2 separate regions of the Homo sapiens genome follow, and region 1 is linked to region 2. Evidence: promoter capture Hi-C in 16 types of primary human blood cells and fetal thymus (Javierre and others, 2016). All regions are on one chromosome and are shown on one strand. The core of a region is centred on a gene start or on the middle of the fragment in contact, and the rest is flanking DNA. Distances in the headings are between cores, read along the strand shown. Region 1 holds the start of LOC105379289 (a long non-coding RNA gene). Region 2 holds the start of DLC1 (DLC1 Rho GTPase activating protein).

Region 1 (6,304 bases), core at 2,518-5,017, 650 kb after region 2:
ATTTGTAGCATTTGCCAACTTTTCTGGTGTAAATAATTCTACAGTGGCTCATTACAAGTTACCAACGTGAAGTCACTGAAAGTGGAGTTGGGAAAGATGCTCATTTGCTGCCACAAGCTGGCTCCAGCATACCTCTGATTGAAGATGAGAAGGTTTGAGCTGGATTTTATATTCTGCAAAGAATATGTAAGCGCTAATAGCTCATAGTAGAAAAACCATGTGCTTAAAAGTTTGATAGATCCACATTTAAATCCAGCTCCACTGCTTTCTAGCTTTTAGCAATGTGTTTTTTGAATCTAAGTGTTAATGTCTTTAAAATGAGCTGATAATACCTACCTTTCAAGGTTATTGAAAAATTAGAAAGGATAATGTATATAAATCACCTCAGCAGAATGTATATTTCTAATAAGTGGTGAGCTGACTATCCAAAGCCACCAGAGGACAAGATGTTCAGGCACAAAGATGCTGAAATGGGGGCTAGCACACTGAGCAAACTCTTGTCCTCTAATCCCAGAGAGTTTATATCTAGGAAGAGCAGTCTGCTTAACTGGCTATGAGGAAGTCATTCTGGTCATAATGAGAGATACATATTGGAGGAATGTGGAGCACTAATATCAGATAAATATTGTGTCTCGATTTTGGTTTTCTGCATAGGAAGCAAGAGAAGGAAATTCATTGTCAAATAATAGAGAACACATTGCTTTGGGAACTCTGGTTCTGACCTAATGGCAGAAGGAACAAGACTTACCTGTCTCTTTGTTGTCTTTCTGTTGGAGTGGATTTGTTTCTAGTCTTTGCTCTTAATAGGGAGCAGTACTTTGAAAGTGCTGACTTTATGTAGGCCCCTTGGTTCCAACTTCCCATTTGAGAAAGACTCAAGGCTTCATTCATCTCCCCTCTTCTTTTTCGTATTAACAGAGATGCCCCAGGTAACTGAAGATCAGCAGATTCCTAGATTGCTGAGACTAACAACCTGTCCTCTGGAAGCCAGAGCATCACTGCTCAAAGCTTCTCACTGTGGTTTTAGTTCCAGGTTCATTTCTGAACTGTGTCTACATTAGATAATAAAAATATATTATATTTTAGCCAGTATTTCTAGGTGCTTTTAGTGGAAGGATTTTCAAATTCTGTCCTCCACAAGCCGATAGCTGTCAAATAAGTTTATCCCTCCAATCCTATAGGCCAAACAATCTCCAGTTCTATCAGTTAAACGTCCCATTTCAAACCAGTCCAAACTCTTGCCCTGCTACTCAACTCCCAACCTGGCTCACATTTTCAACTTCAGTTTCCCCAGGCATATCCAATCCCCCTACCCTCTGATCAAACTAGAAAACACTCTCTATGATCTAACAATCCACAAAGCAAATACTGCATGGTTCGAAGTCTGTGACAGTAGATGTTTTTTTGATTTGAAGAAGAAGAATAGAAGCATCAAGAATCCTCGCAGAAAAGTTTTTAAATGATTTGTAAAGGATTCATTTAAAAATGATTTTGTTAAGACCCTCCCATGGTAATTGCTAATATTTATAAAACCCAAATTTATGCCTGAAAGTTTCAGTAATTGAGAACAAAAGTAACATCTAAAAACCCCATTACAAACAAACAAGCTTTTTTTTAGTATAAAGTCTTACATTAGTATAAAGTTCTTAGTCTTTACTGTTGAGTCCTTGATGTAAAGTCTTAACTAGTTTTTCTTTTTCTTTTTTTTTAGAGATGGGGTCTGATTATGTTGCCCAGGTTGGCCTTGAACTCCTGGACTCAAGTAACCTCCACTTAGGCCTCTCAAAGTGCTGGGATAACAGATGTGAGCCACTGTGCTCAGCTTCTTTACATTTTTAGTGTAAACTTAGGGTAAAATCTCCTATTGTAGAAGCTTCTATTGTGGTCAATGTAATATGTCAAATTGACTAGGTTATGGTACCCAGATGTTTGGTCAAACACTAAACTGGATGTAGCTGTGAAGGTATTTTTAGAATAAACTTAACATTTAAATCAGTAGACTTTCAGTAAAATAGACTACCCTTCATAATATGGGTAGGCCTCATTCAATCAGGTCTTAGGAGAAAAGACTGAAGCATCCCAAAGAGGAAGAAACTCTGCCTCAAGATTTCAATATAGAAACACTGCCTGGGTGTCCAGCCTGCAGATTTTGGATTCAGGTCTTCAACTTCAACTCTTGCTGAATTTCCAGCCTGATGGTTTGCTGTACAGATTTTGGACTTGCGAGACTTTCCGCCAGATGCTTCCTCTCACCCCTTGTCCCTGGCATGGCTTTATTCCAGAACCTCTGTCAAAATATACTTTATGGGTGGCTACTCTGGCTTAATGAAGAGATAGAGATGGCAAACTTCTCATCAAGTCATATTTGTTTGGCTCTCCAAAAAATGTATTAAGCTATTAATATATTTGCAGCACTGGGGCCACCTCAAAAATGGGTTAAAAGATGGGTTCTTCTGGCAGGGCGTGGTGGTGCATGCCTGTAATCCCAGCACTTTGGGAGGATGAGGCGGGTGGATCACCTGAGGTCGGGAGTTTGAGACCAGCCGGACTAACATGGTGAAACCCCGTCTCTCCTAAATACAAAAAAAATTAGTCAGGCATGGTGGCAGGTGCCTGTAATCCCAGCTACTCAGGAGGCTGAGACAGGAGAATCACTTGAACCTGGGAGGCGGAGGTTGCAGTGAGCCGAGATCGTGCCATTGCACTCCAGCCTGGGTGACAAGAGTCAAATTCTGTCTCAAAATAAATAAATAAATAAATAAAATACCTTCTTCTCACACTCATTAGGAAGGCTAGTATCGAAAAATGGAAAATAAATGTTGGTGAGAATGTGGAGACCTTGGAAGCTTTGTGCACTGCTACACATGCTACAACAGAGGTGAGTATTGAAGACATTGTGCTACATTATGTGAAATAAGTAGGTCACAAAAGGACAAATAATGTGTGATTCCACCTATATGAGGTACCTAGAATAGATACATTCACAGAGATGGAAAATAGAAGTTACCAGTGGTTGGGGGGAGAGATTAATCAGGAGTTATTATTTAATGAGTACAGTTTCTGTTTGGGATGATGAAAAAGTTCTAGAAATGGGTGGTGATAATGATTGCGTAACAACGTGAATGTAGTTAATGCCAATGAATTGTACACTTCAAAATGATTTACATGGTAAATTTCATGTTAATGTATGTTTTACCACAATAAAAATGTACCTTCTTCTTTCAATCATGCACATGGGTCTAGATAAGCTTACATTGTTGGTAGAGATGATAAAAGAGAAAATAGTGAGAGTCCATAATTCTGTTCCGAGGTGGGGACTAGTCAATATTTTCCTCCAGTTTGGCTAAAAATTTGAAAACAATCAAATTTGTTTTGACATTTATTAAGCTGATGAAAATGATGGGATGGTACAGTCAAAAAGGTAGAAATTATAGTTTTTTTAATACTTTAAGTTCTGGGATACATATGCAGAATGTGCAGGTTTGTTACATAGGTATACACGTGCCATGGTGGTTTGCTGCACCGATCAACATATTATCTACATTAGATATTTCTCCTAATGTTTCTTCTCCCTTCTTGAAGTGTTGGACAGTTTTGTATTTTCTTTGGCTCTGAATGCATGCAATCTTGATAGAGGCAGACCCATCTACTTCTGAAGGTCAGGTTGCTTGCGGCAGCTCAGTTATTCAAGTGTGCAGTGTGAAGAAGGAAGGAGACTGGATACAATAATTACTTAAGCAGCTACTAGTTTCTTGACCAGAGTTAAACCGCTTAATCTTCTGTGCCATGGTTTCCTAGCCTGCGTGTCTTCTCGCTTCAGTTTGTAAACTAAGATTGACCCTAAATCAGAAACAGATACCACAGTATTAAAAAATATTACTCATTATTTTACATTGTGGGTTTTGTACTCTTTCTGCATCAGATTTTGACTGTTTGTATGGCTGGCTCTGAAAGCTCTAGACAGTTGCTCAAAGTGAGTATTCCTGTCTGCTCAGGTTATAACCTCAGCCCCCTCTCTTTGAGAAGCAGATGCCAACTTGGGGTGAGAAAGGGCCACCACCCTCTCCAAAATTCATCCCTTTGTGACCATAAAGCCATGTCTTTACAGCAGAAATGACTACTTCCCCTAGTTAGCTCTATGTTTCCTATAAAATATTTTACTATTCAAGATCAAGCAGAGCAATGTTGTTCTGTAAGTTTGTGATTTGCCTCGGAAACCACAGGGGTTGTGTGAGAATTTATGTTCAGAGCATTTATAACTTTATAAAACATGAGGTAAAAGCTTTCCTTCACAAAAGAGGTGAAAATCCTGACCTGTGCTGAGAAATGAATAGGAATGGAGGATCTGTGCATGTGTAAAACGACACTGTCAACTAACATTTTAATTTCACACCATGCATCAGACAAATTCGAGGCAACCAAAATGCAATATATCAGAGATGAGGAGAAATCTTTATCAGGCTATAAAAGTAACCCTCTGCACACTTACAATAGTCCATCATGGGACACCCAAGATGGATTTATACCAAGAGTAAAGATTATTTGCACGTTACAACTCACCTAGGTGGTACTAGCTCAAATTGGGACCAGTATTCTCTTTAATGATATTAAAGTGTGAATGTCACATAGATGTGATAAACAACTTGAGTTTCAAAGACGCTTCTGAGAGTGGTCAAAACCATTAGCTACTTTGAGAAATTGTGGCTATTGAAGATTTAGTGAACACTATCTGTACCCTGTTGGGTAATTCAGAAGTTGAGGTTGGTCCTATGAGAGAATATGGTAACTAACAGAGACAGCAACCGATGGGAGAAACATTCAATAATCAATTATTAAATACACTACTGATACAGTTTTGCTGTGTCCCCACCCAAATCTCATTTCGAATTGTAGCTTCCATATTTCCCATGTGTTATGGAAGGAACCTGATGGGAGCTAATTAAATCATGGGGGCGGTTTCCCCATACTGTTCTCATGGTAGTGAATAAGTCTGACGAGAGCTGATGGTTTTATAGGAGGCTTCCCTTTTCACTCGGCTCTCATATCTCTCTCTCTTGCCTGCCATGTAAGATGTGCCTTTTGCCCTCCACCATGATTGTGGGGCCTCCCTAGCCATGTGGAACTGTGAGTCCATTAAAGCTCTTTTTCCTTATAAATTGCCCAGTCTTGGGTATGTCTTTATCAGCAGTGTGAAAACAGACTAATACAACTACTACTTTTCTTGTTCATGCTAGAAGTAAGCACTGCTTAAATTTAGCATTTTCATCCTTAAAAGAGAAAGCTAAATAAAATGTTCACCAAATAGAAAAAATTGCAGCTGTTAAGGCCTGGCAAATTATATCCAGAAGAGAATGGTTTAAAATAAATCTACCAAACATCTTGTAGCTTGATTCAAAACAGCTAAATCGTTCTGAATATGTGAATGAACAGCTAATTCAAGGAATATCAGCTCCATTCTCCTGAGCCATGGGTGATTTCTCTTATATCTTCCATGGTAACTAGTGGTCCATCTGTCCGACAAGATGGAAATCATCAAGACCCACTGGGGGTTTGAAGGCCCAGTATTTCCCAAAACTCACCAGCTAGGACCTTTGAAAATGGGAATACACTAAAAATATAGACAACCTGTTATAGGTGTTTCTGTCCGTGAATTGGGAACTTCTCAGTATGCTAAAGAGCTAGGAAGGACTTAGGCCATTCACAGGGCTGCAGACTCTGTTGGTGATACTGAATTCCAGTTTATAAATCGACAGAAGGAGTTCCTTTCTCCACATCCTGGGAACCAGAGAGTTGCCATTCAACATTTCATGGAAGAAATTCAAGTAAAATAGCTCCTGATCTCGTACAACTATGGTTAGTGGTAGGAATATATGCATCAGAATTTTTCGAACTGTTAAAAATAGCAGGCTACGTTATTGGTGAACATAAGGAAGATTAGTCCCTAGCTCTCATTTCAGAAGAGTTACAGTAACTGTTTAAGAGAAACAATGAGAAAAAAATTGGAGGGTGAGTTACATGTGTTTACAATCTAACTTATTCCTGGGTGACGCCTCCTGAACTTCACTTTGAGGAAATGAATCTATGTTTTGATGCAACATTATTATATCCTCGAGCTCAGCTTCAATATGAGTTCTTAAGATTTTATGCATAGATTTAACTGAGAGATGTTGTGTTTTTAGAGAACTGATGGGGATGACTATAAAGTCAGATCATGAAGGGAACAGGAAGTTTTACTGCTAGTGGATGAATGTGACTCCCAAATTGTTTTCATGTTATTACAAAGTGACAGAAATGCAAGGAGTTT
Region 2 (6,821 bases), core at 2,408-4,907:
TTCAACTTTCCTGAAAATGATTGGGAAATGACTAGATAAATGATCATAGCTAATGTTTATTGTTTAGGTAAAAGTACCTAAGTAGAAAAGAGATCTTTAGGCCAGGCACAGTGGCTCACGCCTCTAAACCCAGCACTTTGGGAGGCCGAGGCAGGCAGATCACTTGAGGTCAGGAGTTTAAGACCACCCTGGCCAACACGATGAAACCCTGTCTCTACTAAAAATACAGAAATTAGCCAAGTGTGGTGGAGTGCATCTGTAATCCCAGCTAGTCAGGAGATGGAGGCAGGAGATTTGCTTGAACCTAGGAGGCGGAGGTTGCCTTGAGCCGAGATCACCACCACTGCACTCCAGCCTGGGCAACAGAGCCAGACTCTGTCTCAAAAACAAAAACAAAAACAAAAAAAAGAAAGGTGATCTTTAAAATACCATTTAATCCACCTCCTGCTATTCTTCTTTCCACAGAGTACATAATTGTTCCACCACTATAACGGTTTCACATGTATACATTTAACTTGGAGTTCAATAGAAGAGAGAGAAAGATTCTAAAAATACCTGAAAGAGAGATGTAAACATTAAAAAAGGCAATAATTTAAGTGGTAAAAATAATTCTAGCTAATGGCTTTATATGGACTAGCTTTTTGCATTGTGACAATTCTTAGTTATGGAAGCTAAGACATCCTCACCCCGGTTAGGTAACTCACACAGGTCACAAAAGCTGTTAGTTTTGGAGCAGACTCCTATCCTGATACTTTGTTTTCAAGTTCTTAACTGTCCCTGTCCCCTTATTTGATTAGCTGATCCAGTACAGAGTAACAGTCAAACATTTAAGGAAGTTGGTATTTAGATTTGCAAGTAGAAAGAAGGGGACAAATATTTTGAACTCCTTCAGTGTTCCTGACACAATACTAAGTACTTAGGAAGTTTTCTCACTATTTATCTTTACACTCATATTTGGTAAAGCCTTTATAAGACTATAAGATCTGAGATTTGTTTGGAATCAAGCAACTCAACAATGAAAAATAAATATAAGTAATTAAAGATTTGGGAAGTAATCCTATTAATAGAAGAAAACATAATGTATTTTTTGTGTAGAAAAGGGTATGTTTATGAGAAACTTACTAACAAGAGTTTCTAGATATCTAAAAGGCATTTGTGAACAGAGTTTTCTTGTTTTCCCAAGCCAATAGAAATAGAAACAAAACTAAAGTATATGGCGCGGGGTACAGTATTCATGAATAAAATGTAGCTAAGAATTAGCATGATGCTGATATAATATTGAGTAACCACTGTATATCAGTACTAAAGGCAGTGACAGAGATAGAGATATCAAGTTATATTAGGAAAGACATAATATCAGTTCTCATTCCTTTCTTCTCCAGTGTTTTTCTTAGGGAAATAAACATAAATACACAAATATTTCTGCATATAAATTTCATCCTGCTTTCCAATCTATAAGTTATGTGAAATTGTCTCTATTTTTAAAGAGAAACTATTAGAGTTTAAGAAGTCTTCCCAATTTAATAAAGAAATTAAGTGGAAGTCAAGGAAGGCAGTTTATGGAGAAAAAATTAAAGCACAAAGCTTGGAGCTAGAATATCTGAGTTCCAGTGTGGACCTGGGCACTTTGTATCATTTGACTGTGAGAAAATTGCTTCTCAATACTTTATTTGTAAAATAAAACATATGAATACACGCAAAATTGTTGGAAAGATTAAATAGGCATACTGTCAGTAGAAACACTTTGAATATAAATATAAATACTTTTTAAAGAATTTATGGAAGAACAGACTTCTTTCTTGGCCTATGGTTGAAGATTAAATTAAAGAAACCTAAATGCTCATGTTTTTAGTCAATAAGACTTTGATCTAAACTTTTAAAGCTGCTTCTGACCAAACGTTTTTATTTGACTACTTCTCATCTTCAAACTCATGCACAGTATAAGTCATTCTTGCCATCTAACATGGGTCTAATATGGTTCATGATTTGCATTAACTTTGAGAGATTTTAGCTACCTAATAAGGAAAAAAATAGTAGTTAGAACCTTGTGCATCTTTGAGTTATCACCTACCCAATATTATCAAAAAGTACTACAAGATAGCCCTTGTGATATACAGGGATGGAGAATAACAGTGAACAATGAAAACTACTTACAATTTCAGAGAAGAACAGGATAGATCTTAGGGCCAACAAGTTTAAGATGTCTTTTACCTCTTTATATGTTACTCATTTTATCACATCCAACTGGAATTATTCTTGCACTTCCTATTATTGAAAGCTTCTAGAAATTTGCAAGAAGCAGATAGACCTAATAATTAATCTGATCATCAGTCCCCCCCCAAAAAAATGCTTGAGTCATAAATAGCAGCGAAATCCATTGATTGTAAATAAAGTAGAAGGGAGACATGACTGAGCCATTTCCACCAAGCAAGATAATTAAAGTCAGAGATGCTGTTTCCTGCTTCCCTGGTATAAACAATGAAGCTGCTCTACTGGCCTCTCCACAGCCTGGATGTCCCAAAACCACCTCCCTCTTCTTTCCTTCCACATTCTCTAAAGAGGATTCTGGGTCATAAAGGAAGGAAAATTGGTGTAACTTTTTTCCTGAAACGACTTCAGCTTCCTCTGTGTTTGTATTTGTGATATCTTATTATAAGACGAGCTAACATCTATTATTAATTGATGCACTAATTAAAGCCATACTTGCAGTTTCCATTAGCTTATTCCCTAAATTCTCCAGAGTTGCCTGTCTGGTTTTAATCAAAACCAAATGGTAGTCCAAATTCCCAACCTGGAGCAGCTAGGAGGAAGTCATTCAAGGGAGGCACAAGAAAGCAGAAAAGATAAACAGATGATAGTTCACAAAATTTGTGACGGACGAAGGATGCAGATACCATGAGCGGCTTTAGAGATGTGATTCAGGAACGCTGCCATGCTAGATGGAAGCAGTTGTAAGTGTTTAATGTCAGCAAGACTCTAATACGATCAAGATGGAGCCTGTCTTCTGCTCCAGCACTGGATTTTTGTAACTGGAGGATTCTGACTAGAGGTAATGCGCTGCTGCATTTGCCATAACACGAACTATTTTAATTCTGTGAAGGATTCTTGTGATCAGAGAGATCTGGAAGAAATCGTTCTATTAACTGGATGCTTGGGATTTTACTTACAGATGGTCTCAGGGACAGAATGAAAAGCTGCAGCATTTCCAATTTTAAGTCATGTTCAAAAAAGGTTTTGCCATTTAGAAGAATTATGGTATTAAGGCTAAATTCATCTTGCTCTCTTAAAAGATCTTTTGAAATGAGAGCAAGCACAGGCATTTTGATTAAGCTGTGCATATACATTTAATATAGTGGAAAGGTTGTGGATAGAGAGAAAACTACGTTTTCTTTCTTTCTTTCTTTCTTTTTTCATAAGCAGTGTGGGATAGAAAAAGCTCTAGGACTTTATGACTCTACAGCTAATCACCTCAAGAGCTTTGACAAAACTCACTTGAGTTCTGTGTAAAATCAGAACTCCTAAAACGCCCAGGCGGCTGGGCTCTCCCCTCCTCCCCTCTCTTCGTACAGCCTTTCTAGCATGCACACTCCTCAGAGGCAGGAAATACTTTCCAGGCAATCTGGGCCTGGTTGTGGAGGCCCCTTTTGCAAAACCTCAGTCTGAATTTAGTAGACAGAAGTCACTAGGAATGCCTTGACAGGATCCTGCCTTAGCTAAGGCTCCCTCCAGCTGCAGAGGGTGTTTTTGTTAGACTCACACACTGCGTGAAACTGCTCAGAATAGAGCCATGATCTCAACCACGAAATGGGAACTTAGATTTTGGAGAAACTAACGGGGACGGACTTCTTTCCTAGCCTGAGTGTTGAGCAGTGTCATGCCTTGGCGTTTCAGCTCCTCGTTGTCTAGGTAAGACGCTATGGACTATCTTTATGCTTTGAGGCGGTCTTTGAAGAGGCAGAAAGATTGAGATAAATGTTAGCATCTTGCACGGAGTTGGTGACTTCCTAGGTTTTAGAGCAAAGCCATAAAATCAGAAGTGGAAAATGTTTGATAAGTAGAAAATTCTGAGTCAATTCGTTTTAGCAAACTGTCAGTTCTAAAACAGGCTCCATATAGATTTAACTCTTTTCCTCCATAAAGTAAGATTTTATTTTTATCCCTTTTTACGTTTAACTTATTTATTAATTGAGCTGTCGGATCAGTTTTCCTATTTCTTGGCATAACGTGAAACAAATACATTTTCTCACACATCAGTGTGAGGTGTAAATGAATTCCTCCCCTACCTTCCTTTGCCAACAGGGAGAGTAGAAAGCACCCGAGTGACTTGTGCTTAATAATCAGTCTCCAAAGAGTATTTTGTGTCTCATTTAAAACTACGAAGATTGAATTTCTTATTATTTTACCCAAGCCAGTTTCAATCATATGTCAAGCTTCTCCTGTACAGCTTAAAAGGTTCATTTAAAAAAAAAAAGTAAACACGTGAAATTTCAGGAATTATTTCTGTCCTAAATAGTATTTAATCTGAGTTTTGGAAATTTAAATGTCGGAATCGAATTTAGTTTATATTAATTTTCCTGGATTCACTGCTTGCTCCGGTCACATTTTGTGTAATATTTTGAATAACTGAAGTCAATCTCAATGACACTGACACTCATTATAACTCTTTTAAGGCAGCCAGAAATCACTCCAGTCATATGGAAACTGTTTGTGTCCTTACTTATGTAATCGTAAAATTACATTTCCACCTGACTGTAGTCTCTTCAAGGTAATCTTAAATGTTTAAATGTACAATATATTAGAAAAGAAGTTTAGTAATGACCGAAAAAGTGTGGACTTATAATGCATAAGATACTGTTATATTTCTGAATATTTATAATAAAATTCATCATTTTATAGAAATAAAATGGTACATAAAGGGAAGAAATATTCATGTACATTTTCAAATCTATTAGATGAATACAAAATATACTAAGTGAAAGATGGAGAGCTATTTTGACAGTTGGATCATAAGAAATGAAGTAACTGTTTTCATTATAAGTTTTTATATAGTACAAGGTGACCATCTGCTATATTAGCTATTCTCAAATTTTATGCTAGAATAACTTATATTGATAAATTTTAACTATTCACTGACAATTTGTGTTAAAACTTCTTAAATATGAGAAAAAGAATCTACTTTTTATATATGTGGAAGATAAAATACTGACTTATCTAAATTATGATTTAATTAAAATCTCCAAATGGAATTTCAGAGAAGGAAAGAACATAAGAGATGGTCTCCTCTAACAATGGCTTGAGGTTGTCTACAAGAAGCTGAGAAATGGGATTTAAAAGTGACCTGTCCAAGGTCACACCTCTAGCTAATAGAAGAGAGGACAGCAGAACCACAGTGCCCTGATTCATAATTCAGATACCTTTTTATCCCATCATCCTGCCCTCCCATAATAATTATGCATAATGAAGTATGAACATGTCCAGTAGAAGGGTGCTTTGCAGACAGAAATTTGCAGTTCCTCTAATTTAAAAAAAAAAAAAAAAAAAGGTAAAACTGTCACCAATGTTAATTATGTGGGGAAAAAAATCCTAACTTTAAAAAAAAATCAAATCAGTATGCCTTCAATAAACACTTTACAGTAGTAACTTGCTTTATGACTATTTTATTATATTTGATGTTTATGTCAAGAAAATCAATCCATATGCTAATAATTATATTAATTTTAATCTGATGTTTCTTTAAAAATAGGGCTAGAAAACAGCTTTTCTAATTTATATCCTTGTACTCAAATGATCATAATGAAACTGTCCCAACCAATGACTTTCAGAGGCAATTTTACAGCACCACCCCCAGGCATCCTTTCTTCTATCTAGCCTAAATCATTGTTGCTGTAGCTTATTTCAAGTTCTATGTGGGTCTTTTCACTAAATATATAAAAAGCCTAAGTTGACATATAAAAAATATGTTTACATTTCTCCAGCATGTTTGCAATCCCTTAATTGATTTGTATGTCTGCTCTAAGCCTTCTACAAAGTCATTTAATTGTAGAATGCAGAATTTTTACAGTATATAAATAAATGTCTGAACAACGTGGTATAAAATGGGAGCGTGGGCTATTTCATCTGCATCATACTTCATATATGACAATATTTGTTGCTGTGTGTGCTGAAGCAGTATACCTTCTCAGACAAGACCCTTTCTCATAAATGTAACACATTCCATTTCTAATAGCTGCCATTTCCTTAGAGAGAATGTGTCACGATACTTTTTTTTTCCATTTTCATGACCAGATTGAGTTTCCTGATGTTATTACTACTTAAAAGAGACACTATTCAACACTTCCTTTCAATGTCACCACACTCTACATTATTGGAATGAGAAATAAGTGCAGTAAAGTGGTGGCCCTTATAGCTGACTGCCTGATTCCTAGAAGGCCTAGTAAAAGATAGCACATCACTTCATTTTCTTCATAAGGACATTATAATTTAAAAAAAAGAATTTTTTCTCTCTCTGTCTATACCTACCCATACCATATAACTCACTACAAATACTTATGGGATGGTTTAATCTTATTCATAGAGTTTTAGATCTTACAGGCTTAAAATAGGTCAAAAATTGATCATTTGAAATTTGTCTTTTGTTTGTTTTTTGTTTCCTCTTGAAAAATGAGTGATGTCAGTGTTATAAAATGAGAATCACTCTTTAAAAACTATTACAGTATGGCAAAGTTCCAAATGACCAAGATCTAGATCAGGGATTTTATTATCAAAATAGAGACATGTCAAGAATTGCACATGAGAATTGGAAGAGGACAAGGGAACACTGA

Evidence for each region. Contacts are between HindIII fragments. The CHiCAGO score rates a contact against its expected background, and 5 or more counts as called.
Region 1: a contact is called between a fragment that was not itself captured here and the fragment with the promoter of DLC1 in region 2, in 1 of 17 cell types (endothelial precursors). The highest score is 5.2, in endothelial precursors.

What each region holds. Positions count from the first base shown.
Region 1 is chr8:12,860,441-12,866,744 of GRCh38, reverse strand. LOC105379289 (a long non-coding RNA gene) reads right to left here and starts at 1,279. Exons shown (of 3, transcript XR_949509.3): 1 at 749-1,279. The HindIII fragment of the contact is 1,034 bases long and covers 3,251-4,284 here.
Region 2 is chr8:13,511,687-13,518,507 of GRCh38, reverse strand. DLC1 (DLC1 Rho GTPase activating protein) reads left to right here and starts at 3,657. Exons shown (of 18, transcript NM_182643.3): 1 at 3,657-3,906. The HindIII fragment of the contact is 2,152 bases long and covers 2,281-4,432 here.